Linked DNA regions of Homo sapiens: region 2 is linked to region 1. The links are contacts of gene promoters, found by promoter capture Hi-C in blood cells and fetal thymus (Javierre and others, 2016). All regions are on one chromosome and are shown on one strand. The core of a region is centred on a gene start or on the middle of the fragment in contact, and the rest is flanking DNA. Distances in the headings are between cores, read along the strand shown.

Region 1 (3,579 bases), core at 1,080-3,579:
GGTCTTTGTTTTCTGGATGATCTGTTGTCATTGGGAGAATAATACCTATGAAATTGATGATCACCTAAGTGTTATTGACTTCTAGAACTACATGTGATTTATTGCAAGGCCATCAGAAGCAAACTAGGGTGGCCAAAGAGCTGAAGCACACAGTTAAGTTCTTTCACTTCTGTTTCTTTGTATGGTTGTTTAGTTTTTCCGGGGAGATATTGAACTATACTGCTTTAGACTGTTGATGGCTGCTAAGGTGTTCTTTGTCAAACTGAGTTATTCTGATTTTCCTCTGCTTCCTAGGAAACCCGAACCCTAGCGGAGATTGCCAAAGTGGAGCTGGACAATATGCCACTCCGTGGAAAGCAGCTGCGTGTGCGCTTTGCCTGCCATAGTGCATCCCTTACAGTTCGAAACCTTCCTCAGTATGTGTCCAACGAACTGCTGGAAGAAGCCTTTTCTGTGTTTGGCCAGGTAGAGAGGGCTGTAGTCATTGTGGATGATCGAGGAAGGCCCTCAGGAAAAGGCATTGTTGAGTTCTCAGGGAAGCCAGCTGCTCGGAAAGCTCTGGACAGATGCAGTGAAGGCTCCTTCCTGCTAACCACGTAAGTGAGGGTCATTTTCAGACGTAGACCTTAGATTGCTAATTCCTTCCATGGTCTGGAGAGTTAGCCTCTAGTAACCACTTTTCTATGTTTAAAGACTTTTGGTCAGCCTGGCATGGTGGCTGACTCCTGTAATCCCAGCACTTTGGGAGGCCGGGGCAGGCGGATCACCTGAGGTCAGGAGTTGGAGACCAGCCTGACCAACATGGTGAAACCCTGTCTCTACTAAAAATACAAAAAATTAGCCAAACATGGTGGCGTGTGCCTGTATTCCCAGCTACTTGGGAGGCTGAGGCAGGAGAATCGCTTGAACCCAGGAGGCAGAGGTTGCAGCGAGCTGAGATCACGCCACTGCACTCCAGCCTGGGCAACAGAGTGAAACTGCCTCAAAAAAATAAATAAAAGACTGGGCAAAACAGCGGCTCACGCCTGTAATCCCAGCAATTTGGGAGGCCGAGGCGGGCAGATCATGAGTTGAGGAGATCAAGACCATCCTGGCCAACATGCTGAAAGCCCGTCTCTACTAAAAATACAAATAAATAAAATAAAAATACCAAAATTAGCGCACATGTAGTCCCAGCAACTTGGGAGGCTGAGGCAGGAGAATCACTTGAACCTGGAAGGCAGAGGTTGCAGTGAGCCGAGATTGTGCCATTGCACTCCAGCCTGGCGATAGAGCAAGACTCTGTCTCAAAAAAAAAAAAAAAAAAAAGACTTTTGGCCCAGGCGGGACAGATCACCAGGTCAGGAGATCGAGACCATCCTGGCTAACACGGTGAAACCCCGTCTCTACTAAAAAATACAACAAATTAGCCGGGTGTGGTGGCGGGCGCCTGTTGTCCCAGCTACTCTGGAGGCTGAGGCAGGAGAATGGCGTGAACCTGGGAGGTGGAGCTTGCAGTGAGCCGAGATTGCGCCACTGCACTCCAGCCTGGGCAAGAGAACAAGACTCCGTCTCCAAAAAAAAAGACTTTTGGTATTAGCCTGGGCATGGTGGCTCATGCCTGTAATACCAACACTTCAGGAGGCTGAGGCGGGTGAATCACGAGGTCCTGAGTTTGAGACCAGCCTGGCCAAGGTGGTGAAACCCCGTCTCTACTAAAAATACAAAAAGTAGCTGGACGCGGTGGTGGGCGCCTGTGATCCCAGCTACTCGGGAGGCTGAGGCAGGAGAATCACTTGAACCCGGGAGGCAGAGGTTGCAGTGAGCCGACATTGCACCACTGCACTCTAGCCTGGGCGACAGAGGAAGACTCCGTTTCCAAAAAAAAAGACTTTTGGTACTAAGCTTTCTCGTATGATTTTTCTGTAATCTTATATTAATAGACGTGGGATGACGATTATGAAAAATAACTTTTTAGTCATTCGGTAGGTTGTCATGTAGTCAGTGTTAAGTCTCTCTTTACTTTGAAGATTTAGAGTTCTGAAAAGTTGATTTGTGCCTGCAGTATCTCTTAGTGTTTACCACAAGTCATTTCTCAGAGTGTCTGTAGATGTTTAGGCTGTACTTAAGTACTGCACCTACCTACTTGGAATATCTTTTTGAGACTGTATTCAGAGATCTAAGTCCTGATTTCGTCCTGTCAACCCCAGATTTTCTTTTTTCTTTTTCTTTTCTTTTTTTTTTTTTTTTTGAGACAGTCTCACTCTGTAGCCCGGGCTAGAGTGGTGCAGTGGCACAATCTCGGCTCATTTCAACCTCTGTCTCCCGGGTCCAAGTGATTCTCCTGCCTCAGCCTCCCAAGTAGCTGGGATTACAGACGTCCGTAGAGTCAGGGTTTCACCATGTTGGCCAGGCTTGTCTTGAACTCCTGACCTCATGATTCACCCGCCTCGTCCTCCCAAAGTGCTGGGATTACAGGCGTGAGCCACCACCCCCAGCCCAACCCCAAATTTTTTATAATGTCATTAGGTATAAAAACTTCAGAAGCCTCCAATCCTGAGCCCTAGCTAATTCATTGTGCCAGTGACATGTGTAGAGAAGAAGCCTGGTGGGGTATGATTTGATTAACACTGAACTTTGTTCTTTCTTCCAGATTTCCTCGTCCTGTGACTGTGGAGCCCATGGACCAGTTAGATGATGAAGAGGGACTTCCAGAGAAGCTGGTTATAAAAAACCAGCAATTTCACAAGTATGCAGTCTTGATAGATTTCCCTATTAGGTGTTTCCTTCTTAAGAAAGCTTATAAAGGGATATGTAAAAGAGGCAGGTCTTTGCTGCACATGTTCACTGGCAGCCATTATCTTGGTCCTCACAAGGAATGCAATTCTTAGCTGGGGTAATTCTGGACAAAGTTAGTAACCTAGGAACCTTGCCTATAGGGAACGAGAGCAGCCACCCAGATTTGCACAGCCTGGCTCCTTTGAGTATGAATATGCCATGCGCTGGAAGGCACTCATTGAGATGGAGAAGCAGCAGCAGGACCAAGTGGACCGCAACATCAAGGAGGCTCGTGAGAAGCTGGAGATGGAGATGGAAGCTGCACGCCATGAGCACCAGGTCATGCTAATGAGACAGGGTGAGTCTAGGCCTGTAAGTCTTAAAGCTGAAAGGACAAAATGACATTTTTAAATGGGTTTCTTTGTATCAATTAACAGAAGGGCCTACATCTCTGCTTTTATACTTAGTTTGCGTTGATTTTGGTAGATAAATAGGCTTGGAGATGTGGCAGAGATACTGGATTCTGTGGAGAAGGAAATGATAGGTATAACTTCATTTTGGAATCTGGACACCACAGGTGGTTCCAAAGGAATTAGATCCTCTTTGCTTTCTGGATCTTTATTTGAAGAAAGTCATTAGATCTATATGAAGACAATGAGGAATATTCTTAGTCTGTTGTTTTTTTAGATTTGATGAGGCGCCAAGAAGAACTTCGGAGGATGGAAGAGCTGCACAACCAAGAGGTGCAAAAACGAAAGCAACTGGAGCTCAGGTAACTTTTCTCGAACACTTTTTCCCTAACAACTCTAAAAGGTAATGTCT
Region 2 (3,579 bases), core at 1-2,500, 180 kb before region 1:
CCTGGCCTAGACAAGTCAGGATCCTGAAGGTAGTGCCCCTAATACCTCCTCCCTTCCCATCATGATCCCCTACCTCCTCTTTTCTGCCCATGTACCCTTATGATAAAAGAACACTACTCTGTAGACTCCAATGTCCCACAGTATCCCTGGTCTCTTGACCCTTTCTTTCCAAATTACCCAGATTCTGCAGTTTTAGCATCTGTGTGGCCTGTCTCCTGGGTTCCCGTGGGTCCTGGAGCTGAACAACAAATGTTTGGTAGAGGTGGATCTCCTTTTTTTGCAACTGACAGCCAGAAGTGATTTCTTCAGAGAATAGATAGTGGCTGCACTTCTGGACTTTATCATTATCCGAGTTCTTGTACCTAGAGGAGAAAGGTTGGAAGGAAGAGGAACAGTGGGGCCAATCTGGGTACTGCAGATATCCAGAGCCTAGCCTCATCTCCCCTCAACCGACTTATGACTTACCCCAGGAGAAAACAGTGGGGTACCTGGGAGACTTGCTACCCTCTCTCTTGGTCTCTGATCCAACCCACCTCTTCTTCATCCCCTCCCCCTCGTCCCTTCTCATACCAATAATGCAGAGTGAGGTTGGTAGGCTGGGGCTCAGAGCTGCTGTTCCAAGTGCAATTCATGTACTCGACATTGAACACAAAACACTGAACCTCTGGGAGGGGCAGAGTGGAAACACTGAGGGAGTCAGTGGGCATAGTGGTCAGGAAGAAATCTAGATTGGGGAGAAAATGAAGGCAGGGAGGGAAAGAGAAATGATGGTCAGAAGGAGGAGGCCAAGCACGGTGGCTCATGTCTGTAATCCTGGTGCTTTGAAAGGCTGAGGCAGGAGGATCACTAGAGGCCAGGAGTTTGAGACCAGCCTAGGCAACATAGTGAGACCCTGCCTCAAAAGAAAGAAAGAAACAAACAAACAAGAAAGAAAGAAGAAGTAGCGTGAGGCAGGGAACCCTCCCCCTTGCCCTTCCCACTCCACTTTTCAATTCTGCCCACATGATTGTAATGGCCAGTGGCAGGCACCAGATCTCTGTACGGCCCCTTCCCACAGCCACCCTTCTCACCAGCCCCCTCCAGTCCCAGATTTCCCACCAGCTGTGGTGTCTTCATTCCCATTGGGCGTCAGAATTGTCGTGTTCAGCCCCACTCCCAGCAGGGGCAGCTGCAGGAATAAGAGGGATGTGAATGGTAATGATGGCTTCAACATGGCGCTTGCTCTTCATTCCCTGGGTGTAGTCTGTCTGTGTCAGGAACCTGGGTCCCTCACCCACTACCCCTCCCCACCCACACGTTTCCTCTGTCATAGCTTCCGGTGGAAAGAACCTTATAAACCAGGGCTTTACAGAGGGTGTGGCAAATATGTGCTGTGTGACACGGGCTAAGTCCTCTAGGAGATTAGGTGCTGCTGTAAGGTGGTAAACAGAAACTAAAGCTGGATATACAATAGTGTCACAGACTCAAAAATCCTCAGCCCACCTAGATCCTGGGAAGGATCTGTTCACTACCACTAGCACCATTCTCAACCACCTTCTCCTCTAAATCATTACCTTCTATAATGGAAGTTCTGAACCCCCACCCCCGACATCACCGTTCTATGCCATGCCTCTTCCTTGACTTGGTCACCCTTAAATCTCTGTCAAAGCTCTACTGTTTTGGGAGGATGGAAAATACCGTCTTGGCTCCTGTGGGCACATATACAGCTGTCTTTCCTCTGATCTAATCCAAACCAGAATACCCACCCTTAGCTGCTGCCTGAGCTGGGTCCCTGTTGAGACTGGCGAGGAAGTGTGACTTATAATACAAAAATATTCTAGAAATGGAGGAACAACAATACTAGCTTCAAGCTTCCCATCTTCCCCCAACTCTGCTTCTCTTCCTGCCTTCCCCACCTCAGTCAATGGTATCGTCACCCTCTCAGTCACCCAGACTTGAAACCTCAGAATCAGCTTCAATTTCTCCCCCTCTCTCACCCAGAGAATATAACCCACTCTGCTTCTGTGGTGTTTCTCCCAACGGTTTCCTCCTTTCCATTACCACAGCCACTCTGCTAAATCAGTCTTTCATTAGCTCTAGTCATGATTCTATCTAGACTCCATCAACTGGCCTCCCTTTCTAAAGGCCCTCTGCTCTCTAATCCATTCTTCATCCTGTTGCCAGTTTTACCTTCCCCGAAAACACAGAGGTGATTGGAGAAGCCACTTACAGAAACTATTTATTCAGCAAACATTTATTACGTTTTTAATATGTGCCAGGCACTGTGCTTATGTTCTGGAAATAGACCAACAAGACATCCTCATATTTCTAGACACTCACAGAAAAGTGGGGAAGACATAAACAAGTAATACAACATAGTGTAACAAGTCCTATAGCATAAATGTAGAGATACTACAAAGTATGTGAGCACAGAAGAGGAAGTAACTAAATTTACCAAGATGGAGAGGGGGATAGTTTAGTGAAGGCTGTGCTGAAGAGGTGCTATTTCAGTGGCATCTTAAAGAATGAGTGTAATTTTACCAGACAGAAAGTGGTGTAGGATATTAAGCAAAGAAAAACAGCACTTGCCTGGGAGTCTCAGGAAAACTGGACTATATGGCCCAGCTTAGTATTTAGTATGTATCTTTAGTATGTATTAGTTTGCTAGGGCTGCCATAAGTTATCCCCAAACTGAGTGGCTTAAACCAACAGAAATTTATTCTCTCGGCTGGGTGCAGTGACTCACGCCTGCAATCCCAGCACTTTGGGAGGCCAAGGCAGGTGGATTGCTTGAGGAGTTCGAGACCAGCCTGGCCAACCTGGTGAAACCCCGTCTCTACTAAAAATACAAAAATTAGCCAGACATGGTGGCAACACCTGTAATCCCAGCTACTCGGGAGGCTGAAACATGAGAATCGCTTGAATCTAGGAGGCAGAGGTTGCAGTGAGCCAAAATTGCGCCACTGCACTCTAGCCTGTGCAACAGAGTGAGACTCCATCTCAAATAAATAAATAAATAAATAAATAAAAATTTTTTAAAAAGGAAAAAAAGGCATTTATTTTCTCACAGTTCTGGAGCCCAGAAGTCCGAAATCAGTGTGGCCAGGGTTGGTCCCTTCTGGAGGCGCTGAGGAAGAAGTTGTTCCATGCCTCTCTTCTAGCTTCTGGTGGCTGCCGTCGATCCTTGGTGCTCCTTGGCTTGTAGACACATCATTCCAATCTCTGCCTCCATCTTTGCATTACCTCTTCTTCTTCTCTGCATCTCCTTTATCCTTCTCTTCTCTTACAGGGACACCTGTCATTGGATTTATGGCCCACCCTAATCCAGGGTGTTCTCTCCTAGGAGCTTTGCCTTAATTACAGCTGCTAAAAGCCTTTTGTCAAAGAAGGTGACATCCACAGGTTCCAAGTGAACATATCTTTTTGGAGGCCACATTCAACCCACTACAGAGGGCATTCTCCAATTTAAAAGTCTTCAAAAGCTACTCATGGCCTTCAGAATAAAGCCCAAGCTCCAATGATCAATTCCAGCCACACTGGATATGTCATACGCATTTCCTTTCTCTGGAATTAGCCTCTTCCTAACTTTCTGTAGGCTAA

The links. Contacts are between HindIII fragments. The CHiCAGO score rates a contact against its expected background, and 5 or more counts as called.
Region 2: the fragment with the promoter of IL2RG here is called in contact with a fragment that was not itself captured in region 1 in 7 of 17 cell types (total B cells, naive CD4 T cells, non-activated CD4 T cells and 4 more); the score reaches 10.7 in total B cells.

Annotation. Positions count from the first base shown.
Region 1 is chrX:71,293,933-71,297,511 of GRCh38, forward strand. It overlaps NONO (non-POU domain containing octamer binding), which reads left to right. Exons shown (of 12, transcript NM_007363.5): 5 at 295-596; 6 at 2,633-2,728; 7 at 2,919-3,115; 8 at 3,445-3,529. Among named protein-coding and RNA genes, the nearest start is that of ITGB1BP2, 6.0 kb to the right of the region's middle. The HindIII fragment of the contact is 894 bases long and covers 1,883-2,776 here.
Region 2 is chrX:71,110,327-71,113,905 of GRCh38, forward strand. It overlaps IL2RG (interleukin 2 receptor subunit gamma), which reads right to left and starts at 1,251. Exons shown (of 8, transcript NM_000206.3): 1 at 1,099-1,251; 2 at 571-724; 3 at 178-362. The coding sequence starts at 1,213. RefSeq lists enhancers at 712-1,911, 1,014-1,403. The HindIII fragment of the contact is 3,788 bases long and covers 1-1,848 here.